7 separate regions of the Homo sapiens genome follow, and regions 1, 2, 3, 4, 5 and 7 are each linked to region 6. The links are contacts of gene promoters, found by promoter capture Hi-C in blood cells and fetal thymus (Javierre and others, 2016). All regions are on one chromosome and are shown on one strand. Each heading gives the region's core, a stretch centred on a gene start or on the middle of the fragment in contact. The rest is flanking DNA. Distances are from core to core; before and after follow the strand shown. Region 1 overlaps IRF2-DT (IRF2 divergent transcript). Region 2 holds the start of SLC25A4 (solute carrier family 25 member 4). Region 3 holds the start of SNX25 (sorting nexin 25). Region 4 overlaps CASP3 (caspase 3). Region 5 has its middle 13 kb from the start of CENPU. Region 6 holds the start of CDKN2AIP (CDKN2A interacting protein). Region 7 overlaps CFAP97 (cilia and flagella associated protein 97).

Region 1 (3,415 bases), core at 792-3,291, 1.0 Mb after region 6:
CTTACTGTAACCTTGAACTCCTGGCCTTAAGCGATCCTCCTGCTTCAACCTCCCAAGTAGCTGGGACTACAGGCCTGTGACAGTGCCTGGCCCAGGCACTGACTTTCTTATGTCATATAGCAATGACCACTAAGGGAAAGTCTATACAAACTATAGAATAGTTGTCATTCTTTACCCAACCCGGGACACAAGTTAAAAACCTAGTATTCATTTTTTTTTTCCTGTACCAAAACAATCATCTTCCTTTATTTTTCCTGGAGCGGGAAGAGGAGAGTGGAGAAGAAGGGAAGAATGCAAAGTGTCACTTTGAACTTCTCGTTCACCACACACGTGGGAGTCCACTCATGTCAGCAGCCTCCGTGCACAGGCCCCAGGTGAAAGAAAGAATGAGGTCTAGTTGGACCAGCTAACACTGCCTGCCTTGTGTTTACGAAAGGCAGCTGCCTCTGTGGTGTGATTTCAGGGGAGCCAGACAGGGCCGGGGCCACGAACCTGCATCCTGCATCCTAAGCACCTATTGCCATGCGTGAGGCTAACTGGAAACTCACTTGCTGGGTGCAGATAGCTTCCAAACTATTGTGATGCTCATGCTTGACTTCCCAAGGAACGTGTTTCAGGAAAGGCCATTGCCCTCATTATGGTCTTTGATAAGCAGGAAGAAGTTTGTTGTTCCTTTTTTTTCTTAATGCCCTACTTCGTGCAACATACATCCAATCAGTCATATCCTATTGACGCTACCCCTAAATATCTCTGGGCCTGGCCCGTGCTCAGGGCACTGCCTTCATTCAGTTACTGCACTTGCCTGCTGCCTGTGCTCCTGGTCTCCTGCTTGGACTCCCCCAGGCCAGCAGCCACACTACTGCCAAAATCCAGTCGAAAATTAACTTCAGGTAAAGCACAATTCCAAACCTAACACTGCCCCCCTCAAAAGCCTCTCTGTAGCCTTCAGAATAAAGACCATATTATTTGACAAGACACATAAAGTCCATTGTAATCTGGCACCAAACGACCTTTCCAGCCTCATCTCCTGCCATTGTGTCCCACAAGCCCTACATCCCTCCCTTGCCAAACCAGCCTCCGCTCCTTTTTGTCAAACAACAGAGCTGTCCTCTTGTTCATTGTTTTATCTTTAGCATGGTGCCCAGCACACAGGCACTGAAATACTTGTGAATTAATAATTACTTGCTCTTTTCATCAGGCTCTCATAAAATATTTTAGACTTGATCAGAGCCTTGTTTTATATTTTAATAGCTTTTTAATATAAATGTAATTAATGTTTCTTGTACAGAATTTGGAAGATGCAAGAATGGTGAGAGAAGAACATAAGCCACCTGACATCTCACTAGTCAGGAATAGACCTGTGGATATTTTTATGTATTTCCTTCTAGTGATCTTTCTAAGGGACCGTTTCCAATCCGCATCTCCTCTGTCTGTGTGTAGGATTTAAGAATGCTGACTGTGCAGGCTGCTCTCCACGATGCCCATGTGACAGCCTGCTGTCCTATTCTAGTTCTTGGCCGGTTCCTCGTCTGCTGCCAGCCCCCTAAATTATGGTGTTTCCAGGCATTCTATCCTCAACCCTCTTATTTTCTCATTCTACATGCTTTATCTTTGGGTGTTCTCCTCCACGCCCAGGGCTTCAGATATCACTATTTGCTGATGACTCCAAAATCTGTAACTTCTGAGCTCTGACCACATTAACTCCTACACATGTCTCAGGTGCAACAAATTATACATGTCCCAAGTCAGAGAGAACATCTTTTCCACAGCCTTGCACTGTTCACTTCATTGATTAGCTGGGAAACTGGGAGGACTCACAGACTGCCCCCTTTCCTGAGTCCTGGGGCCTCCCTGAAGCATGGGTGTTGCTTGCAATTTTCCAGGCCCCTAAACTCATAAAACATAGACAGAATGAATTTCTGTTCTTAGGCCCTTGATGACATGTCACTGCAAACCAAAAATGTACAAATGAACCAAAACAGCCACATGGTACTGATATACACAGTCAAGAAGTATCTTAGCCCTTTGATGAGATGCATATAGTAATAAATCTCTGTGGAAACTCCAGCCTTTTTGGAAGCCTGGGTAAGAAAGTAGGCTCAGTGGCTCACGCCTGTAATCCCAGCACTTTGGGAGGCCGAAGCGGGTGGATCATGAGGTCAGGAGATCGAGAACATCCTGGCTAACACGGTGAAAACCCGTCTCTACTAAAAATACAAAAATTAGCCGGGCGTGGTGGTGGGCGCCTGTAGTCCCAGCTACTCGGGAAGCTGAGGCAGGAGAACGACATGAACCCGGGAGGTGGAGCTTGCAGTGAGCCGAGATCACACCACTGCACTCCAGCCTGGGCGACAGAGCCAGAGCGAGACTCCATCTCAAAAAAAAAAAAAAAAAAAAAGAGTAACCTTTGTCATACTGAGGAAATCTGACCAAACACTTCAGTCTAACGTGAAAAAAGTTGAAGGGTCTTTTATAGTGAAACTAGAGTCATCTCCTGGATGAAGCATGTTTGTATTTCACCTGTGGGATGGAATATCCTAAAAGATCTGCCTGGCTGCCTCAGGACTCATTTCTTTTCAGGGGAGTCGGGTGCAGACAATATTACTTGAGCACAATAGTGCCGGATCTCTCCTTGAGTGGATCTTAACTAAGGAAGAAATGTAAAGACACATTCAAAGTTGACCCCTTTCAAATGGGTTTTTAACTTAGTTTCCTAAAATTGAAACAAAGTTTCATAAAATGATCATTCAAATAAAATCTGTTGAGTGCTCAGGAACATTTCCCAGCACTAGGGATACAGCAGTGAACCAAATGAATGAAAGTGCCAGCCTTCTAAGACGTTTTCTTACAGTCTTGTAGGTTGACATGTTGATTTCCACTGTGGCATCCCAGTAATGGCACCGACATCATCTCCACCTGTAATCACAGCCTTCAGAACTGTACATGCAACTTAGGAATGTGTAACATGAAGGCATATAAATGAAAACCTAAGTATTTATAGCTATGATTTAATCAGGAGCCCCAGGTCTGCAAGCAGATGCTCAGTTTTCTCCCCAGAATCACTGGGACCACTTCTGTCTTGGCCACTGGAGCTCCCCTCCAAGGTGCTGCAATTCAGGAGGTTAGAAAGTCATGGAAAACGAGGGTTCCACCCTTGCCAGAACAGTTGCCAATACAAAAGCCACAGATTAACAGTCCTGAGTTGCAAAGAACATTATTGTGAAGTCCAAGTTGAATAAACACACAGCCAAGTTAAATTTTTTGCGGCAATAGAACAGCAATGGGATTGAAAAAACCATCAGTCAAAGTTCAAAGGTCATTGGCCTCAAGTTGAAAAATTCTTGAGCATGTTTGACTGTTACTTTATGTAATGGTTCCTTCCATTTTACAAGAAACTAGGAAGTGGGGGTCATTT
Region 2 (3,574 bases), core at 771-3,270, 1.7 Mb after region 6:
TCCTTTCTTTCTTTCTTTCTTTCTTTTTTTTTTTTTGAGTCAGAGTCTTTCTCTGTTGCCCAGGCTGAAGTGCAGTGGAGTGATCTCAGATCACCATGACCTCTGCCTCTCGGGGGTCTCGTGCCTGAGCCTCCTGAGCTGCTGGGATTCCAGGCATGAGCCATCACGCCAGGCTAATTTTTGTATTTTTAGTAGAGATGGGGTTTTGCCATGTTGGCCAGGCTGGTCTCGAACTCCTGACCTAGGTAATCTGCCAGCCTCAGCCTCCCAAAGGTATGAGCCACCACACCCGGCCTATTTTTCATCATAAAAATAAGACACAATTCTAATGCACAATTAAAAGGAAAATGGAGGTATAAAAGCAAGTGCTCTATATTACAGGATGGGATACAGTACACTATTATAATTAAAAAGGTTTACTGTGTGGATTATGCTGATCCATGGAAATCAGTAAGTGAAGTTTTGATAAAGTGGAGCAAGTGACGAATACACTGAACTGTAAGGTCTTTGGAGATGGGCCACGTCTACTTATATTCAATCCACAGGGCTACACCTAGTTCTTGGTACACAGTACATGCTCAGCAAGAGTCTGTTGAATGAACACATACATGGTTTATCTGTTTGTCTCTTCCGAGTTCTTGACTTCTGTCTGCTCTGACCTCTGGCAGCTTTCCACTAGTTTCTAGCTTTCATTCTGCTTACCTGGATTTCGGAACTCTAGCCTGCCCCACTCTTAGATAAACGCATGCCCTCTGTGGCCCTGGAACCTTAGTGACTTCTGCTATACCAAAGTCTCCACGCCCAGGGTGACACGCAGCTGCAGCTCCGTAAACCTCTAACATGATGTCAGCAAATATTAAAAAAAAAAAGTTTATAAAACAATGAATAAACTTTGTTAAAGGTACAAATGAAAATTAGCAAACATGGGAAGATAATTGAGTGAAGAGTTTAAAGTTAAAAACGAATTGCAGTCATTCTAGGGGAAGGAACAGTTGTATTTGAAAACCTGTATGGTTACATGAACTGCCTAAAAAACAAGCTAAGGAAAATTAAAGCTCAGATTTATATATTTTAAGAAATTAATTGCAATTAATTTCCTGGGATTAAATAGCATTTCCTCAACCCCAGCTGTCATTAAAAAGAGGCAAATACAGCCAAGGACTGGATCTCCGGAAGGCTGACAGCACTGACCCTCAAGAAGGCACCGGCTGACAGACAGAACATTCTGCCCTAATATGTGCTGAAATTCCGCTGAGAGCAGAGTGGTACATTGAACCCTTTAGGGGCTTACAAAAGAAGTGTCCTGTGTTTTAGAGTCACAGAGTTTTGCAGAAACAAGTATGAATTCACCTAGTGGCCCCCTGCACCAGGTCTTTCCTGTGGGCACTGAGTGCCAGACACATCAATATGTAATAGCAGAATGAATGACTGAACGAACGATTGAATGAAAAGAAATGAGAGGCAGCAGGTTGTCAGATTCTATGAGGCAATCACAGCATCAGGTGACCTTAGTATCTATTTGAGAGGACTGCCATTTATTCTCGGGAGCGCACGGCTCTAAAGAGGCCCATATCCAGGCAGTGAGCTCTGGTGGGGGGCGCCTTTAGATGCAAGAAGGAGGAAACAGCTCGAAATCCCTGGGCCTGAGCGCGGCCCGTGCAGGCCGGAGGGTCAAGAACTCTCCACCGGCGGCAGCGGCCCGGTGTCTGCCCCGGCTTCGCCCCGGCCTAAGGCTGCCTGTGCTATAAATACGCGGCCCACATGCCGCGGTGACACGGTGTTCCCTGGGCTCGGCGGGACAGATAACATGAATGTGCCCTTTAAACGTCCCAAGTTGCAGGGACAGCCCCCGGCCCAGCCTCGCTCCCGGAAGCGCCTTCGCCCCCGATGCCCTCTGCAGCTGGGAGGAGGGGGCGCCCCGCACCTGCCCAGCCAATGCGCGGCGCGAGCGCCGGCCGCGACCCGCCTCCTCTCGCGAGAGCCCGGCGGGGATATAAGGGGGAGCTGCGGGCCAGGCGGCGGCCCCCTAGCGTCGCGCAGGGTCGGGGACTGCGCGGCGGTGCCAGGCCGGGCGTGGGCGAGAGCACGAACGGGCTGCCTGCGGGCTGAGAGCGTCGAGCTGTCACCATGGGTGATCACGCTTGGAGCTTCCTAAAGGACTTCCTGGCCGGGGGCGTCGCCGCTGCCGTCTCCAAGACCGCGGTCGCCCCCATCGAGAGGGTCAAACTGCTGCTGCAGGTGAGGACCGCGCGGTGCAAGAGGCGGGCGCGGGCGCGGCGGGCCGGGCGGGGCGCGCGATGCGGCGCGAGCTGCAGGGCGCGGGGCGCCGCGGAAAATCTGCGCCAGGCCACAGGCCCGGGCGCCCGCCCGCCCGCCCGCCCGCCCGCGGGGGAAGAAGGTGCCCTCTGCGTAGAGACAGGTCCAGCGTCAGTCGCAGATTCCTGGTGTCGGGTGGCGCCCGGCGTTCGGGTGTCTATATATGGAAACCCACCCGGAGCCGGTTTACGTGTGCCAGATCCTGCGCCCGTGACAGCACGGGCGTGCACTCAGGCCCGGAGGCACCTAGTGATTGCCAGTATTTTTGGCACCGTCTTATGCGCACGCACCTTTACAATAAAAACATCAAAATAATCATCACCCAAGAATTCCCTTATCGTATCTCATGCACAATGCTGTATGTAGGCTGACGCCTTCATCTTTATGTAACCTCTGTGAGAGAGTTATTCTTCTCCATTTTACAGATGAAGCTGAGGTTTTGAAATATTAAGAAACAATTTTCGGAATAAACTCAGATCATCCTGTCTCCAAATCTTTTCCTCCCCTACCTGGTCGCTGAATGGTTTATCATCCTCTCGTGTTTTCCTCCACCTGCCCAAAAGGTCAGGGCCCCTCAATGAGGAAGAGCCCAATTTGGGAGTCAGAATTACTAACAACAAAACCCCCACAAATTGCTCACAACGGCAGCAAACCCTTAATAATTGATTACTTGGATTATCTGCTTGAAAACTTTGGAGGCCTAATGTTTAGTGGATTTATTCTCCTTCCTCTATTAGAGCATCTAGTAGAGATCCTCATCTCCAGGGTGATCAGAGTGACACTGAGAAATTGTCATTTTTTGGCCATCATGTCTATTAAATCCAAAGCCCTTTGAAGCAGGGAGTGTTACTCATTTCTGTCCCCCAGTAAGCCCCTCATACAGTTCTCAAACCTAGGGAAAGTGAAATAAATAAATGGCTATAGCTTTATATAATTCAATCACCTTTTCAGTTTATTTGGGGCAATACCTTTTCCCTCAAATACCCTAATAATTGAAGCAACATTGGATTATTTTGGCTTGTTATCCAGTAACTAACATGGATAACAGTATCCATTTACACGTCCTCAGTATCCATTTGATTTCCTCATCCTTTTTTTCTTCAAAAAAAAAATCTAGGAAGTGCAAACCTTTTTTTTTCTCCTGTCCTCTTCCCTTCTCTCTACCCTGCCTGTCCTCTGTCACCCACCCTCCCCTCCACCAGGTCCAGCATGCCAGCAAACAGATCAGTGCTGAGAAGCAGTACAAAGGGATCATTGA
Region 3 (3,372 bases), core at 376-2,875, 1.8 Mb after region 6:
GTTGATAACAAGCCACTGTGCTTTATTTGAATAATTTGGGTTGGTAGGGTACACTTTGAGGGGCTCCAATTGGGTGAAAATTAACAACTATTTTAGAGGCAAAAGGGCTTCTTCAAAATTAATCATACTGCTTTATTTATTTTATTTTATTTTTGAGACGAAGTCTCACTCTGTTGCCCAAGCTGGAGTGCAATGGCGCGATGTCGGCTCACTGCGACCTCCACCTCCGGGGTTCAAGTTTCACTATGTTGGCCAGGCTAGTCTTGAACTCCTAACTTCATGATCTGCCCGCCTCAGCCTCCGAAAGTGTAGGGATTACAGGCGTGAGCCACCGTGCCCGCCCCTATTTTCTTAAAAAAGGAGGAGAAAGGAAACTGGTAACTTATTTTGATCATCCCCTTGGCATGGCAAAGTCACATCTAGCATGAGGCACTCTTCATTTCTGACTTAGAAGGTTTAAGAAAGAATGAAATGAGGCCGGGCGCGGTGGCTTACACCTATAATCCCAGCACTTTGGGAGGCTGAGGCAGGCGGATCACGAGGTCAGGAGATTGAGACCATCCTGGCTAATATGGTGAAACCCCGTCTCTACTAAAAATACAAAAATTTGCTAGGTGTGGTGGTGCGTGCCTGTAATCCCAGCTACTCGGGAGGCTGAGCCAGGAGAATGGCTTGAACCCAGGAAGCAGAGATTGCAGTGAGCCGAGATCGCCCCACTGCACTCCAGCCTGGGCAACAGAGACTCCGTCTCAAAAAAAAAGAAAAAAAGAAAGAAAGAAAGAATGAAATGCCCATGAATACCAATTGATACTAAAAGCAAAAGCTACATCTGCTTCTTTATTAGTCTTAGCAGTAATTGCCAGTGTTTAAGTAGCATATTGGCATCTACTTAGCAAGCGTTATCTGTATATTACTGGCTGGGACTATGACAGAAGAAAAGGCAAATATATACTCTAAAAATTATTTGGACCACGTTCCTTTGCGTGGCTGATAGCATTTGAACTGAATAGTTGGTAAAAAACAAAAAACAAAACAAAACAAAACAAAAACCAGAAGTGGAGCCAAAGTGATTATGGGCAGCTGCGTGCACCCTGTTGCACCAGGCCGACTTCTTTGGACCTTTCCATAGCTAGGAATTGCAGGCTTCACTTACTCCACCGCACGTGTCTGATTCCTTCCCTAAGGCGGCAGGGTGGGAAAGGGAAGGTCGTTAGAAACTGTGACAGGGAGTCTCGGGAACGGTTGCCTATTTAAATAGCGAGTGAAAACCAGGCAGAAATGTTTGCCGGCTGTAAGCAAAGCGAAGAGGTTACTCGTCAGTGATGAGCGGAGAGGGAGAATTACGGGATCACCTGAGCTCAGGAATTACCAGCGCCGCTGACACCTGCAGCAAAATTTTCCATGAACAGACGGCATCCTGTAGAGGAGGAGGGGAGCGTGGGAAAGAGAGGTGTGCACCGCGCTGGGTCGCGCCCTCTCCCCGTGGGGCCCCGGCCCGGACCCCGCCCCCGCGCTGTGGGTGGGCGCCTCCCGGCTGTCACTCAGCGGCCGCGGTGGCTCCGGGCCCCGCCCGACACGCACTTCAGGGCGGCCCCGCCCCGCCCGCGTCAGGCTGGCCAGGCTTCAGTCACAACACGGTGGGGCTCCCTGGCTGCGCCCGGCCCGGCAGCTACGGGCCCAGCGCCTGGTGGCGGCGCTGAGGGGTCGCCGAGAGGGGCCCGGCGGCGTCTGCGGGGGCCGCTCCCTCGGTGGGCCGCGGGCGAGGCATGAGCGCGGGCTCCCCCTGCCTCCGGAGCGCCGGCGGGGGACCGGGGGGCAGGAGATGTGCCTGTCCTTAGCGGCCCAGGAAGCAGCATGCACCCCGATGCGACCGACAGTGGCGGCGCCGGCCCCAGCCCCGCGCGGGCCGCAGGCGCCGGCGGCCGTCCTGTCTCGGGCTTCAGGGGCGAGCGGCGGCCGGAGTCCCCGGGGGACGCGGAGGCAGCAGCAGCGGCGGCGCCGGGGGCCCCGGGCGGCCGGAGCTGGTGGAAGCCCGTGGCGGTGGCCGCACTCGCCGCCGTGGCCCTCTCCTTCCTGGGGCCCGGCAGCGGGGAGGCGGCGGGGGCCGCGGGGCTGAGCTCCGTCCTGTTCAGGCTCAGCCTGTACCTGAGCTGCGCGGCGGCCGCCTTCCTGCTGGGGATCCTGTTTGCCCTCGTCTGCCGGAGCCCGCGCGCCCAGCCGCCCGACTTCGCCGCCGCCTGGAGCCGGCTGGCCGCGACCTCAGCCGCCCGCCGCCCGCCGGGGGTAAGTACCCGACTCCTGGCCGCCCAGCTCCGCCGGCCCTCCCCGCTTCCGGTGCCAGCTCCCGCGCCCCGAGCTCCGGGGGGCCGCGGCATGCCCTTGTCGAAGCGGGAAGCCGGGAGCCAGGGGGCTGGGCTGCGGGCCCGGCCGTGGACGCGAGCGTTCCCCGGCGCCCGCGCGCGGCGGGCTCCGGGCTCCGGGCTCCGCGCTCCGCGGTGCTGGAGGAGATGCGCGTTATTTACTGGGCTCTGTAGTCACTCGACAACCATCCTCAGTCACAACCCTAAGGGTGTCCCCAGACCTTCGGTGTCGCTTGCCGTGGGAGGGGAAGAAGGGAATCACAGCGTTCGCTACGTGCAGGCTCTGCGCACGGTCCTGGCGATCCGCTTGGTTCTTCTGGCCGTTCTCGGTGGGAGGCAACTTTATGACCGTTTGCCGATGAGGAAACTTGCTTCGGTCCCTGGCCCAGCGCCTCACCCCCAAGCCCGCGTACCCTTCCCACCACCCTATCCTGCCTTCCACCATGCGGATACGTATTATAGTTGTGCAGTCCCCGCTGGCTTCTGTGATTTGGAAGGGGGATGCCAGAAATCACTGGTTTGCAACAAAAGGAAAGCCATCCTCAGCGCGCTGTGGGACACTAGGGCGGGGGTTAGGGAATGTAGGAAAGAACAGTGTTTTAAATGAGCGCTTCTCTTCTTCAGTGCCAAACCCACTGCCCCATCTTTCTTCCACATTCCTTCTCATAATCCTTTAAAGGGAACTTTATTCTATCCCAGCTTAACACTCACTGCTTGACTGAGTGATACCATCATTCTAATGAAATTGCCCAAGCGCTTTGGGGTAAGATAAATGGCAGTGGCTCAACTTCATAAGAATATTTGTTAATGATCATTTGTCCCCAGGGTTTGTATTTGCTTATCACATGACCTGCTCACTCCTTTATTTTAAAAGAAAGCACCACACTTCACCAAACTACTCTGAGTGTGTTAGTTCAGAATGCAGCGCTGAGATAATGGCGGAAGGCATTAGTAGGTAACAGACATTTCGCTCAGTAGGCTGATAAACAAGGCAGTATATTAAGGAGCAGGC
Region 4 (3,661 bases), core at 1,131-3,630, 1.2 Mb after region 6:
TCAAGCTGTGTTTTCCTACACAAGTAAAAAACTAGAATGTTCTCCCTATTTACATGGTGGTTAGCCAACTACTCATTACAATACTGAAGTAAAGCAGACTACAACATCTATAGCATTAAGGCAGAGAAATAAAAATTAATTTCTAAAGTGAAATTTCTATATTAAGCTATAAAGTATTAACAATTTGAAACAACCTGTTATTAAAGAGTGAATGTGTGAAAGTGTGCCTGTGGTGGGGAATTCAAAAGGAGATGTTAAATTAGGATTGCCAGTCTCTAAAACTGAAAGAAAAAATACATTATTTTACAATAGGATTTAAAATATTTGATAAAGATTTCTCAGGGACAAATACTATAGTGGACTTCATTAACTTCATTATTAGTATCTGAACAACATATATTTTCTCAGTTATCAGTTTATTTTGATATACTTTAAAAATTTATATGATGGTAAAGGAAATCCTTACAGCATCAGACATGCGCACATTTGCTCTCTACTTGTCATCATCCGCTTTTTCCACATGAAAGCACCAAATCCACACTCCTGGGAGCAGAGCTTTGGTTCCCGCAAAACTCACTGAAGTGCTGCTTAGCATGACATCACCTCCATTAGCTAGTGCCCAGCGGGGTACAAATTATTCTGAGGATGGTGATCTCATCTTAGAAAGATAAAAAATCATATCCTAAAGGAAACAGTCACTGCCTTAAATGAAAACATTTATGTGCCAGTCTCTAAAACTGGCAATCCTAATTTAAATTTTAAATCTCTAAAATTCTTAATCAGCTCATTAGGCTGTTGCTGGTTCCTGTCCTACAGGGAAACTCTGAGGTAAGAAATAAAATCTGGTCTCTGCCCTAAGGGTTTTTAAATCTCAAAGTGAGACCTAAAAAACAACTGTTAGTTTCTGAATCATGTCCATGAATGTAAATGCTTTTAAGAAACATTTACTAGTAAAGATTTACCAAAACAGTAGCCAAAGGATGTGGCGTGAGAGCTGTGTGCAAAGCGCTGCGTGATGACTGTCCCTCTTAATGCTGGCTCATACAGGCTAGGTACTGAACTCAAAGTACAAGCGTATTTTCGTGAGTCCTCCCAATGACACTCTGAGGCATAAGGATCCCCACTGCAGAGTTCAGGTGACTGAGGCTAAGAGAAGTTAATGAACTTTAAAGTCGCACAGCCAAGATTCAAACTAGGATCTTCCCAACTCAAGAGGGCAGACTCCCACTATTCTGTAGACAGCTTAGTACTATATAGGAATGATAACACTTAACTTCAGGGAAGGAAACAAAAATCCATAATCTCAGAAGCTTTAAATAAGACAAAGAAAATAAATAACATGATAGAAAGTTACTGCAGAGATAACAAAATAACATAATGCACTGAATTCTAATGAATGAAAAAATGGCAAAAATGACTATGGCATTTCTGATGCGACTAGGTAGTTTACTTTTGTGTTTTCTTTCCTTTTTTAAAAAAATTTAACAAACTTCGCATGTGGCATTCAATTTACTTCTAAAGTGAAATAGGCCAGACACAGTGGCTCGCGCCTGTAATCCCAGCACTTTGGGAGGCCAAGGTGGGAGGAATGGTTGAGATCATGTGTTCAAGACCAGTCTGGGCAACACAGAGAGACCCCATCTCTATAACAAAGTAAAAACAAGTAGCCTGGCATGGTGGCACACACCTGTAGTCCCAGCTACTCAGGAGGCTGAGGCAAGAGGATTACTTGAGCATAGGAATTGGAGGCTGCAGTGAGCTATGATCGCACCACTGCACTTGAGCTTGGGTGACACAGCAAGGCTGTTTCTAAAAATAATAATAATAAAAGTAAAATAACTGGTTTCATGTTCAGCGTTAGGTATATGTCATTAAAACATATTCCCTGTATCTCTGTGTTCCTCCAAAGGAAAAGTGAAGCCTGTCCAGCAGGACTTCTGGGGAGATTACACTTCTGTCAAACAACTTGAAAAATATCAGGATTATATTTATTACCTGTCAGAGAGGACAAAGTCTCAAAAGCAGTCACGTTTCCAGATTTAGCAAATGAAACAGAAAGAACATCTGTTTCACAATAGTTTGGACAAGAAAAGACTTCAGTTGTGATGTACCAGAGGTTTTATCAAAATCTTTTCCCATCTGGTCTCTGAATTCATTTGAGTACGTATAAGAATTATCAAACTGGCGATTGTAACTGGGCCTGGTGAAGTCAATCTTTTAATATTTGTTATGTAATTAAGGTAAAAATATGAGAACAGGAATGTAAAATCAAATACAGAATACATTGAAATAAGTTCCATTGTACTATACAAACAAACCATCCTTTCCTTTCCTCTGGCAAGGGCCACGTGACCAGGAAGACAGTACAGAGCACTCTCCACTATTCAAAGCCTCTGAGTTTATGACACAAGTTAGAAAGAAGGGCACTTAGTATGTGCAAACGATCTGTCTTCCCTGTGCCAGGTGAAGTCCTAAGATGGTGTTTTTGGAAGGACAAAAGGAGAAAATGGGAAAGCCTTCACAGATCTAAATGATTTGTATGATATAAGTGTAAAATGGAGGATCTCGGATGCCTTTTTATAAAAATTACAGATGACTTTAAAGCCTCAGCACTCCCACCAAGGATGACTACTTTGCAGAATCAGATTCAAGTTTAAAACCGCTTGAAGAAATCCTGCTGTCAGGAAGACTGAAACTGCCAAAACTCAGATTCAGTAGCATTTATTCATTTGATATTTGCACCATAACAATTTACTGAACACCAACTGTGTGCAGAGTACTATACTAGACCCTGAGTGTATCAAGCAGTGGAAGAGACAAACCCTATCTCTATTCAGGGCTTATACCGATGCTCACTGGTATTCAAAAGTGGCTCAACAAGGCAGATGCCAGACCGTGTCCAATACATATCAGGTAGCTTGATTTCATTATTGTAATGCAAAGAAGCTCTACAGGCAACATGTGAAGGTAAGAACAAAACATGCAGAGAAAGAATATTATATAAATCTAAGAATTCTCCCATCTTTGTTTAGGCCCAAACACCAGTGCTTCTTATCTTTGGGGCAGAGCTTAAAGATCTAATAGTAGGCACCAGAAGCAATGTAATATATCATTCATCAAAATAAAGACTGCTTTGTAGGGGGATGAAGCAGTAGGAGATTGTGTTAAACGAGGTTTGAAAACAAAACAGTAAAGAAGCATTATAATTGCCTATATCAGATGCCAGTCTCTTCAAATGGCAAGAGGCAAGGCCTTTATTCAGGATAGCAAAAGCAAATCTGATTTAACTAGGTACAATGTCTAATGTCTCTTACTTTGAACAGGTTTTATTGCCATACTCCAATAAACTGTTCATCCATTCACTAAAATAATTTTCACTTTCAAAAACCTTCTTTTGCAAAAAGGCAAAGCAAAACCAAAGTCCAAGCATCGGGCTGTGATAGAGATGATTTAAGCTTTATATTTCATTTTTAGAGATTATGTAACCACAGCACGCACATTCACAGTGGCTGAGCCCATTTTGATACAGTCTGGTCTAACCACCTTGCCTGGCCCTCTTTCAGCTATCTTGCAGGTTTACATCGTTTCAGTGACTCCGTATGTCACCTCTACCATTTCTTTTCTAATTATTATTTGCTGAATAATCCTAAACCAGGTCTAC
Region 5 (3,385 bases), core at 561-3,060, 1.3 Mb after region 6:
ATAAACTTTCACTCGGCTCTAAAAGTTGCCTCTGTCTCTCGCTCTGCCTTATGCCCCTTGGTCAAATTCTTTCCTCTGAGGAAGCAAGAACTGAGGTTGCTGCAGACCTGTGTGGATTCGCTGCCATTAACGAGATAGTGTTCAGGGTGGGGTGAAGCATGCTTGTTGGAAGGGATGGGCTGAAAACGCAGGAGTGGAGGCAGCGGGGTCAGGAGTCCTAAAGGTGACCTGGAGCAATGTGAGCAACTGCAAGGAACGTCAGGGACACCAGAGGACCAGAGGCTTCAGGACACTGGAGGACACCTAGGTGGTGGGTCCTTAAGTTATATGCTTTCATATTTGGGAAATGGAAAAAAAAAACTATTGCTTTGATTATACCAACTATAGAAAATAATGACAAAACTTTAGGGAGGCTTGGGATAAACTGAGTGCTTGGGCCTGGACACTTCCATGTGGAACTATATCTTCCCTGTGATGGAGGTTGATGTATATATGAATTCCATGTTTTGGAATTGTTAGTTTGATTTTGATTGATTGATTGGACTGAGACAAGGTCTCTGTTGTTCAGGCTGGAGTGCTGTGATGACTTCATAGCTCACTACAGTCTCAAATTCCTGGGCTCAAGCGATCCTCCTGCCTCAGTCTCCCGAGTAGCTGGGATTACAGGCACATGCCACCAGGCCTGGCTAATTTTTGTATTTTTCACAGAGAGGGTTTTGCCGTGTTGTCCAGGCTGGTCTCAAACTCCTGGGCTCGAGAACCACCCACCCTGGCCTCCCAAAGTGCTGGGATGACAGGTGTCCGCCACCGCGCCTGGCCTCATTAGCTTGATTTTAAGTGAGAATATTATTTGGTATCTTACAGGATTCTCATGAAGATAAGAGAAGAATGTAGAGGCCCCTCGATACACAGAAGGGGTGCCATTTCTTATTGGACTCAAGCTTTTCTCCAGGGAGCTTTTCTGTTGAATTTTCTTTTCAGCACTGGGTCCACCAGGGGGCAGATGAAGAAAGGGCCTGGAGATTCGACGATGTCATTGGAGCACAGAGCGCCTCACTTTCAGACGTTGTAAATACTGCTTCAAAGTCAGTTCAAGAAGATGAATAAGGCTAGACATTTTAGTTGCCCTTGCTTAACCCTTTTCCTCTTTCACATAAATGATATTCTTCCACAATTTATCCAGTCCATTCCTGTCAATTTCCCATAAGGCAGAGTATGATTCTCTATGACGGAGAGGAAAAGAACTGATGTCTCAAATTTTCCCACTTTCTTATATAACTTCCTACAGCAGTTACTAATTACTGAGTACACAGGAATATCTCACTCAACTTGGCAGTTTAATGAAGTTATCTGTTTTAAGCAGACCCGTTGTTCAACCTCTGTAACTATAACACTACAAAACAGACTTAACACATCCCAGGAGGGCAGGCATGGGGGAGCAGAGGAGGATCATTTCTTTTGGATGTTCCCTTTAAGAAAAAGAGGAAATAAAATCCAGAAAGGAAGTACTCCTCGCCTTTTACAGTTAGAGGGCAGAAAGATTTTTTGTAGCAAACAACGACATTAGATCTCTTCTTATGTCACATGCTTTTCAACATTTCCTGGGTGCTGTTACCCGGCTGCTAAACTTATTTGCTGTGTAACTAATGTTGTTTTAGTTTTTCCAGACCTAACTGGCACTGCTCCTACCCAAGCTGCAATCACATGGCTAAACAGGTCTGGTCAGTACATCATGACCATGCAATGTCTCATGCTTCAGATTCCATTCTCAGCTCCCCAAAGGGTCAGGAGAGTCTGGTGCTGGGATCCTGGCAGGAGCATGCTAGCAAAATTCAGGATTTCTTTAGCCAAGGAATGGCAGACTTCCAACCTGCATAAGCAGTAATTTTATAACTGAAACAGATGTAAAAAACCGAGTGCATAACCTGAGAAAGAGAAAATGGAAGGACATCCCAGAGAAAAGGTGTTTTTTTTTTTAAGGAAATAAGGACAGAAAAATAAGAAGTAAAATGTCTACAGCAGAGTCTTGTGTCTGTAACTCTCCCTCAAGCTGTGGTTGGAAAAGAACTTTCTTAAAAAGGTTTTCACAGCTCTGTAATGAACTTGCTCACTCTGACAGCACTTTTGGTTGACCTGAGAATACACACAGCTGTGAGGCTGACCTTGTTTGGCCAGTGTCCTGACCTCAGGAGCCCTTACTGCTCAGGCAGGAATGGACTCAGCAGATGGCACCTGGCAGAGGCACCTCCCAGGTGACGCAGCAACTTTCTTCATAGAACCTGCTGTAGAACGAAACCTCTGGCTGCTGCCCTGCACCTTATAGGCCAGCTCTCTCACCCCTTATCACTGAGCATAAAGATCATTCTCACCCAGGCCACAAACATGCTCTTTGTTTCCAGGGCTTAGAGAATCAGGGAAGGCTTCTAAGCAAAGTGCCATCTCCAATCCTGTAGGAGCAGCCAGGCCAGGGTGAGAGTGCTCTGGGGAGGGAGGCCAGCCTGTCCAAAGGCTTTGCAGTGAGCAAAAGCAGGATGCACTTTGGGAGCTGGAATAACTGAGGCATGGCTGGAACAGAGTTGGGGAAGTGTCAAGAAATGAGGCCAGGGAGGCAAGCAGGGGCCCTTCAGTTCCCTACTCCTCAAAGTGTAGCACAAAGACCGGCAGCACTGGTGTTCCCAGGAAGCTTGTTAGAAATGCAGAATTGCAGATTTAGTGAATCAGAATCTTCATGTTAAGATCCCCAGGTGGCTGGGCAAGGTGGCTCATGCCTGTAACCCTAGCACTTTAGGGGGCTGAGGCTGGAGACTCACTTGAGCTCAGGAGTTTGAGACCAGCCTGGGCAACGTGGTGAGAAACAAAAAAACCAACAAATTAGCCAGGTTTGGTGGTGCACGCCTGTGGACCCAGCTACTTGGGAGGCTGAGGCAGGAGAATCCTTAAGCCTGGGAGGTCAAGGCTGCAGTGAACTGTGATCATACCACATACTCCAGCCTAGGCAACAGAGCAAGACCCTGTCTGAAAAAAAAAAACAAAAAAATTCTGAGGTGACTAGATGCACAATCAATTTCGAGAAGCCCCCCCCTCTCACTCCATTAAGCAGTTCAGACTAGGGAACAATAGGAAGCCTCTGGACAATGAAGCAGGAGAATCACATGGTAAGACTTGTGATTTAGAAAAATCTTGCTTGCTGCAGAATGGGTAAAGTAGCAGGGACCAATATAGGCAGCAAGGGGGCCAACTAAGAGGCTGGTGCAATGGTCCTGGCAAGACGTGGCCTCCGCCCTAAGGAGTGGGAATGGAGCATGGTGAGAGGTGGCCAGATTCGGTAGCCAATAGGAGACAGCAGCAACAGGAACTGGTGGCTGAGGCTGCCTGGAGCAGCCCT
Region 6 (3,400 bases), core at 125-2,624:
AAATAGCCAGATTTCTGCAATCCGTCCACCCCCTCTAGATTTTCAGCAATTATCTGTGAAAAGGAGGAAAGAACAGCAAACTAGAAGCAAAATCACAAAGCTTCAAAATTTCTTTGTGCCTCCGTTTTTATGTAGTTTCTTTTGGTATGGCAGGAAAATGGGCAATATTGTTTTCATACAATAGCTGTATTTTGTTCCAGCATGCACATAAATTACACAGTTAACCTTATCTGATCTTACCTAAAGTGACCTTTTTTTGCTTGCTTATTCTGATTCATGCATTTTTACATCAAAGTCTACATTTATTGAAAGAAAAATTTCATAATTTATATCATTTAACGTATTTATCTTACAGTGCATGTATACCTGGAATGGGAAACGTAACAATAAGCCAGCCAGCAGTTAGAGTACGTAACTGTGGGAAATGTAAAGTGGAAAAAAATATATAGAAGGAAAAAACAGCTCTAACAGGGAGAGAGGTTTGGGGCCCTATAGATAAATAGGTACATTTCCACTCCACCTCCGGACATCTGCCGGTTGGTGGTAAAGCTGTTGATTTTAGGAAATTCTAGAGACAGAGCGTTGTCGGGGTGTTGTTTTCCTACTGACCAGAACAGGAAGGCAATGCCTGGATTAACTAGAGACCTAATAAACTGCGGGAACAAGCCCTACCGCTGCGGGGCCAGGGCCAGCTTCGAAGGCTGCAAGCCTCACGGCAACACGGAGCCAGGTCCTCGTGTGACCTTACTGTCTACTGCTGCTATGTAAGGGGACTGGCACTCCCGCCCTCCTGAAGGCGCGGAGACCCCGACGGCCTCGGAACGCTTCGCTCGGGCACACTGAAAGCAGCGCGAGACGCAGCTCCCAACACTCTAACATGGAGGCCGGCTTTTGTTTGTTTTGGCCCCGCTCACACACAGGCGTCTCAGGGCGGAGACCACAGGCCCCGCGGCTGCGGGCGGCTCAAGGTCCCCCGGGACGCCCCCCTAGCGGACTTTGGCCGCCGCGCCCGGCTGCCTCCCTTGCCCGGGCCCTGCCCCTCTCGCCTCTGCTCCCGGCGCCGCAGCTGACCCGGCGGGGGAGGAGGACGGCAGGAGCGCGCGGCGTCACAAAGCGAGGACAGAACGCCCGGGGTTCCGCCGAGACTCGGTCGTCCCAGGCCAGCTCGACTTGCAGTCCGCCCTCGTGGGGCGGGAGACGCCCGACGCCCGCCCACCTCACCCCCGGGGTGCCCTCCGTGGCCTCACGGGGACGCAGCGTCGCAGCGGCCCCGGCGCCGCAAAGCGTCTTGGGAGCGCCGGCTCGCGCCGGAAGAACGCGAGGGCGCGCGGCGGCGGCGAGGTTATAAAAGGGAAGAAGCCGGCGGTGGGCGGAAGTGGGCGGTTCGGCGGCTCTGGGCGCTGTTGTTTGGTCTTTAGGCCTGCGGAGGGGCGTTATCTGGAGGGCCGCGGGTGCAGGCCGCAGTGACAGGGCCGCTCGCCCCGCTAGTCCTGCCTGTCTCCCGGTGCAGCTGTGTTCGCGGCCTGCAGGCCCAACATGGCGCAGGAGGTGTCGGAGTACCTGAGCCAGAACCCGCGGGTGGCAGCCTGGGTGGAGGCGCTGCGCTGCGACGGCGAGACTGACAAACACTGGCGCCACCGCCGGGATTTTTTGCTTCGCAACGCCGGGGACCTGGCCCCCGCTGGCGGCGCTGCCTCCGCTAGCACGGATGAAGCTGCCGACGCCGAGAGCGGGACCCGAAACCGGCAGCTGCAGCAGCTCATCTCCTTTTCCATGGCCTGGGCGAACCACGTCTTCCTCGGGTGCCGGTGAGTGAGGCAGCGTCCCTAACCAGCACGCCTCGTTTTGTGTGCCACCTGCAGACCGGGGCCCGGCGCCCTCCGCGGGACCGGCCTCGGCGGGGAGGGGAAGTTGTGAAGCGCGGGAATCCGCCGGCCCGGCTGCCCTCTAAGGGGGAGAAGGGCGTCCCTGCGAGGAGCCGACATGATTCCCGGACGTCTGTGTGCCCGGTGGTGTGGGCGCAGCTGCTGGTAGGGTTGCTTGTGTTAGGGAACAACGCTCTTGGGGACGGGTGCGAGATTTAAGATTAGTGAGGAGGTGCCCTGCCTCCCAGACCCTGGGGCACTTGTTTATGGGGTTCCAGGAAACAGTTCTTGGCGGTTGGTTCACTTTCTTGATTGCAGCCAGGAAATGCAGTCCCTGTGGCCTGTTTTTTGCACAAGTAGGACCTTAGAAAAAACACTTTTTAAAAATGACTTTTCCTTCTTTTTCAGATACCCTCAAAAAGTTATGGATAAAATACTTAGTATGGCTGAAGGCATCAAAGTGACAGATGCTCCAACCTATACAACAAGAGATGAACTGGTTGCCAAGGTGAAGAAAAGAGGGATATCGAGTAGCAATGGTTAGCAGATCATAGATGTGAACATACATAGGAGTTTAGAGCATAAGTTTGATATAATTAGGAATTATTGTTACTAATTTTTTTAACAAGCCAGAATTTTTATGTTATTAATAAGTAATAAAGTTGGAATGTTAAACCTAAAGTATATATCTGTGTCTTTAGGCTTTGAATTTGATAGTTTGCTTTGACTGCTTTAGATTTTGAAGTGTCCACTGTTGTCTGATGCTGTTATTTTTTTAATATTAGACATTCATGATGTTATTCAACACTGTTTTAAGAAATTAATGACTCCACACTTTTTAAAGAAACGATTAGTCTTGAAATGTTTTCACTTTGTGCCTTTATTTTAATGTGTATTTGTCTCATCACCCGTTTTGTACGAGGTATTCTTAGTCACATATCTATGTTTTTCTTCTTTTTAGAAGGGGTAGAAGAGCCATCCAAAAAACGAGTTATAGAAGGAAAAAACAGTTCTGCAGTTGAGCAAGATCACGCAAAAACCTCTGCCAAGACAGAACGTGCATCAGCTCAGCAGGAAAACAGTTCAACGTGTATAGGGTCGGCCATCAAATCAGAGAGTGGGAACTCAGCTCGGAGCTCTGGCATCTCCAGTCAGAATAGCTCTACAAGTGATGGAGATCGATCTGTTTCCAGCCAAAGCAGCAGCAGCGTTTCCTCTCAGGTAACAACGGCAGGATCTGGGAAAGCTTCTGAAGCAGAAGCTCCAGATAAACACGGTTCTGCATCATTTGTTTCCTTGCTGAAATCCAGTGTGAATAGTCACATGACCCAATCCACTGATTCTAGACAACAAAGTGGATCACCTAAAAAGAGTGCTTTGGAAGGCTCTTCAGCCTCAGCTTCTCAAAGCAGCTCAGAGATCGAGGTGCCCTTGTTGGGCTCCTCAGGAAGCTCAGAGGTAGAATTGCCACTATTGTCTTCCAAACCTAGTTCAGAGACAGCTTCAAGTGGGTTAACTTCCAAAACTAGTTCAGA
Region 7 (3,673 bases), core at 442-2,941, 1.7 Mb after region 6:
AGAAGTTTCCTCCATTCCAAGAGTCAGAGAAGAGACACTGTCTCTTCCTCTGGACACTGTTGTGTCTGAAGGTGAACACTGAAAACGGCTGCAGACATCTCCTAGCAGCCTAAGAACGAAGCCAACACCAGGGCTGGAGGAACACAGTGCTAGAAAGTAGGTCCCTGATGAAGTTTTGAGCCACTCAATCAACCCTGAAGTCTAGCGTGTCTTTGGGTGACCTGTTATATGAGAAATATTGTTTCATTCGGAATTCCCTTCTTGTATTCAAAATCCTGGATAATCACTGATGACTCTGAACAAAAAGCCCAGAAATCAGACTATTTTCTATTAGATGGTTTTTAAAAACTTGACAATTCTAAGAGTTGAGTGTTTTCTTCCTGTAAGAAGCTTTTTATTGGCTGAAACAATACCTTCCTTTTGTATGCTCGTTTTTTAATCCTCTTTCCTAGGATACAGTGGGGTTTATAATTTGTGGGAACAAATAGTACTTACAAGATTTTAAAAAACGGAAGTGTCCCCTTAAAAATAAAAATTATGATTTAGTCAAACAAGCCCATATTTAAAAAATAAAGCCCACTAGACATATTGAACATTTTAATTTATCTTCTAGAACATTTCTCTTTTCAACCCATTTTTAACCTAATTTTATAAGAACAATACTTTTTAATGCCAAACAATAGGCTGCAACTTTTTAACACGTTTCCCATTTGCCCCAAGAAATGAGTGCTGGCAGTGAGCTGTACTTTTTTTTTTCTGAACAGGAAATGGGTTCAACACATACAAATCACAGTAAGAATTATGAACGAAGAGCAATGCAGCAATAGAAATTTGATGCACAAGAAAAAAGGCAAATATATCAAGATATATGTTATTACACAATATTAGTGAGCAATCTGCATTATCTCATGATATTTTATGATTTAATTTCAACCACCATCCAATTTTTGCATTACAAATATAATTTTAAAGAACAATTCTGTCACTTCAAGGAAAACAGTTGACAGTATTTATTACCAATAATAAAATTTGAGCTTTTTAGCAAAAAATAGTATTTTAGGTAAACTTGTATCTGCCACCATGAGTTTGACAGCTTCTCAAGAGCTTTCTGATGAGGCTGGTAGTGATATTAACAACTATGATTTCTATATAATGTATTCTGAAATTTGCCAACCTTTTTTTTTTTTTTTTTTTTTGAGACAGGGTCTTACTCTGTCTCCTAGGTTGGAATGGAGTGGCGTGATCTCAGTTCACTGCAACCTCCAACTCCCTGGCTCAAGAGATCCTCCTATCTCAACCTCCCCCCGCAGCTGGGACTACAGTAGCACACACCACCATGCCTAGCTAATTTTTGTATTTTTTGTAGAGACAGGGTTTCACCATGTTGCCCAGGCTGGTCTCAAACTCCTGGGCTCAAGTGATCTGCCTACGTCTGCCTCCCAAAGTGCTGGGATGACAGGCGTAGCCACTGTACCTGGCCTGCCAACATTTGTAAGCTCAGTGAAACAATATTTTCCAAATACCCAATATGTCACATTCCAAAACCAGGCATAGGTAAAATATACATTAAAAATCAATCAAGAAAGATCAATATGTTTTAACATAACAGACTTGAAATTCACGATTAAAAGTTAACTGAGATTAATTTCAGATTTCACATTGCAACTAACATCTAAGAAACTATTACTTGTGGGCCAGGCGAGGTGGTACACACCTGTAATCCCAGCACTTTGAGAGGCCGAAGCAGGTGGATCACCTGAGGTCAGGAGTTCCAGACCAGCCTGACCAACATGGTGAAACCCCGTCTCTACTAAAAATACAAAAATTAGCCAGGCGTGGTGGAGGGCGCCTGTAATCCCAGCTACTCAGGAGGCTGAGGTGGGAGAATTGCTTGAACCCGGGAGGCAGAGGTTGCAGTGAGCCAAGCTCGCGCCACTGCACTGCAGCCTGGGCAACAGAGTGAGACTCTGTCTCAAAAAACAACAACAACAGAAAAGAAAATACGACTTGTGGTATAAAAAAATCCACAAGTAACTGAAAAGGTTATTAAAATACTCCTTCATTTTTGAACATTTTGCATATGGCATATTTTCTATACATCCTTTAGCCAATGATATATAGATTATAATAGATTATAAGCAGAAGCTGATTTGAGAATCCAGCTACATTCTATTAAACCAGATGCTAGTGATTAGCAAAAATCACTAATTTTTTTGGATATACACCTTTTTCATGACATACATTACTTACATTATATGGCAACTACATAATGAGTTTATTACTACTATTAAACAAATCAATATTTTAAAAATGTGTAATTTCTAATATGGTAAATATTTACAGATATAAGCTATAACCTATATAAACAAAAGCTCTTCAGAATCCTCAATAACTTTTATGAATGTAAAAGTGTCCTAAGACCAAAATGTTTAAAAATCGTTGTGTTAGAGCACTTGAGGTTGGTGCTGGAAATCCAGAAGAGCAGGAGAGAGCTGCAGCCTGCTGTCTGTCAACCCAATAAATCATCCACCTAGCGAATCGTATGCTCTAGCTTAACTAATGAACACACAGACTGGAAAGTGGCCATAAGAATTATAAGAAAAAAGAATTACAAGAAAATTGTTACCCCAGATGGCTTGATTAAAAATTGGAGATTTTACCCAGGGGAGAATATTAATCAAATGTCTTAAAGATTATAATGCAGAAGGATGCACAGACTTATTCTATGTATTTCAGATGGCAAGTTTTAACAGGAATGGGCAACTGTTATAAAATGAAATTTCCATGAACATATGAAATATGTTTCCTAACCAGCACAGCTGTGCAACAGAAGCAGTTTCCTGACAGTCCCTTCAGTCTACAAATACTGTCTATTATGTGCCTGTATTTGGAAATTCCAACAAGAAATAAGATCCTGCCTTCATTCACTGCAATGGGACACACAAGCAAACTAACTAATTTCAGAGTCTAGTAAGTATCCCGATGGAGAGAAACAAGCTTTTGCGACACAGAGAGGCATGGGGAGTGTAAAGCTCCCAAAGATAGATGTCTAGAAAAAGGCTCTCCCTGGCAGAGACTTGAGAAACAGGGAGAAGCAGAGCCCTCTGCAAAGAAAAAGGGCCACAGCAATGCAAGTGCCTCACCAACGGGAAAAAACCCGGAGTGTCCTTACAACAGGAGCGGCAACAACAACAAAGTGTGACTGGAACTCAGTAATTCAACATCAGGTCGAAAAGGCCAGCAATATCCATACAACGTACAGCAATGGTTGTCACCAATCTCAACAGCATACTAGACCAAATGCATCAGAATCCCTGTGTGCAGAGCCTAGGCATCAGTATTTGTTTTAAGAGTTCTCTAGGTGATATTAATGCACTGCCTGGGATGAGAATTACTGATCTGGAGTCTGTTAGGCAATAACAAGGAATTCAGATATTATTACTATTATCATTTTTTTGAGACGGAGTCTCGCTCTGTCGCCAGGCTGGAGTGCAGTGGCGTGATCTCGGCTAACTGCAACCTCCACCTCCTGGGTTCAAGCAATTCTCCTGCCTCAGCCTCCTGAGTAGCTGGGACTATAGGCGCCTGCCACCACGCCCAGCTAATTTTTGTATTTTTAGTAGAGATGGGGTTTCACCACATTGGCCAGGATGGTTTTGATCTCTTGAGCTCG

The links. Contacts are between HindIII fragments. The CHiCAGO score rates a contact against its expected background, and 5 or more counts as called.
Region 1: a contact is called between a fragment that was not itself captured here and the fragment with the promoter of CDKN2AIP in region 6, in 1 of 17 cell types (fetal thymus). The highest score is 8.2, in fetal thymus.
Region 2: a contact is called between the fragment with the promoter of SLC25A4 here and the fragment with the promoter of CDKN2AIP in region 6, in 1 of 17 cell types (naive B cells). The highest score is 5.5, in naive B cells.
Region 3: the fragment with the promoter of SNX25 here is called in contact with the fragment with the promoter of CDKN2AIP in region 6 in 2 of 17 cell types (naive CD8 T cells and non-activated CD4 T cells); the score reaches 7.9 in naive CD8 T cells.
Region 4: a contact is called between a fragment that was not itself captured here and the fragment with the promoter of CDKN2AIP in region 6, in 2 of 17 cell types (fetal thymus and naive CD8 T cells). The highest score is 6.1, in fetal thymus.
Region 5: a contact is called between a fragment that was not itself captured here and the fragment with the promoter of CDKN2AIP in region 6, in 1 of 17 cell types (fetal thymus). The highest score is 6.5, in fetal thymus.
Region 7: a contact is called between a fragment that was not itself captured here and the fragment with the promoter of CDKN2AIP in region 6, in 1 of 17 cell types (naive CD8 T cells). The highest score is 6.7, in naive CD8 T cells.

The regions. Positions count from the first base shown.
Region 1 is chr4:184,476,328-184,479,742 of GRCh38, forward strand. It overlaps IRF2-DT (IRF2 divergent transcript), which reads left to right. Exons shown (of 1, transcript NR_186573.1): 1 at 1-977. Among named protein-coding and RNA genes, the nearest start is that of IRF2-DT, 3.2 kb to the left of the region's middle. The HindIII fragment of the contact is 7,393 bases long and covers 1-3,415 here.
Region 2 is chr4:185,141,246-185,144,819 of GRCh38, forward strand. SLC25A4 (solute carrier family 25 member 4) reads left to right here and starts at 2,021. Exons shown (of 4, transcript NM_001151.4): 1 at 2,021-2,238; 2 at 3,519-3,574. The coding sequence starts at 2,128. RefSeq lists a silencer at 1,793-2,092. The HindIII fragment of the contact is 6,667 bases long and covers 1-3,574 here.
Region 3 is chr4:185,207,973-185,211,344 of GRCh38, forward strand. SNX25 (sorting nexin 25) reads left to right here and starts at 1,626. Exons shown (of 19, transcript NM_001378034.2): 1 at 1,626-2,283. The coding sequence starts at 1,855. It also overlaps a transcript of CFAP97 not described here. RefSeq lists silencers at 1,325-1,904, 2,015-2,174, 2,245-2,434. The HindIII fragment of the contact is 7,757 bases long and covers 1-3,372 here.
Region 4 is chr4:184,644,065-184,647,725 of GRCh38, forward strand. The region is part of intron 2 of CASP3 (caspase 3); the gene reads right to left. Among named protein-coding and RNA genes, the nearest start is that of CASP3, 3.6 kb to the right of the region's middle. RefSeq lists an enhancer at 301-932. The HindIII fragment of the contact is 2,145 bases long and covers 1,309-3,453 here.
Region 5 is chr4:184,744,949-184,748,333 of GRCh38, forward strand. No RefSeq gene overlaps it. Among named protein-coding and RNA genes, the nearest start is that of CENPU, 13 kb to the left of the region's middle. RefSeq lists an enhancer at 2,395-2,896. The HindIII fragment of the contact is 1,742 bases long and covers 940-2,681 here.
Region 6 is chr4:183,443,262-183,446,661 of GRCh38, forward strand. CDKN2AIP (CDKN2A interacting protein) reads left to right here and starts at 1,375. Exons shown (of 3, transcript NM_017632.4): 1 at 1,375-1,808; 2 at 2,274-2,404; 3 at 2,827-3,400. The coding sequence starts at 1,537. RefSeq lists a silencer at 850-1,399 and an enhancer at 1,680-1,829. The HindIII fragment of the contact is 3,011 bases long and covers 99-3,109 here.
Region 7 is chr4:185,184,459-185,188,131 of GRCh38, forward strand. The region is part of intron 2 of CFAP97 (cilia and flagella associated protein 97); the gene reads right to left. Among named protein-coding and RNA genes, the nearest start is that of CFAP97, 18 kb to the right of the region's middle. The HindIII fragment of the contact is 2,607 bases long and covers 389-2,995 here.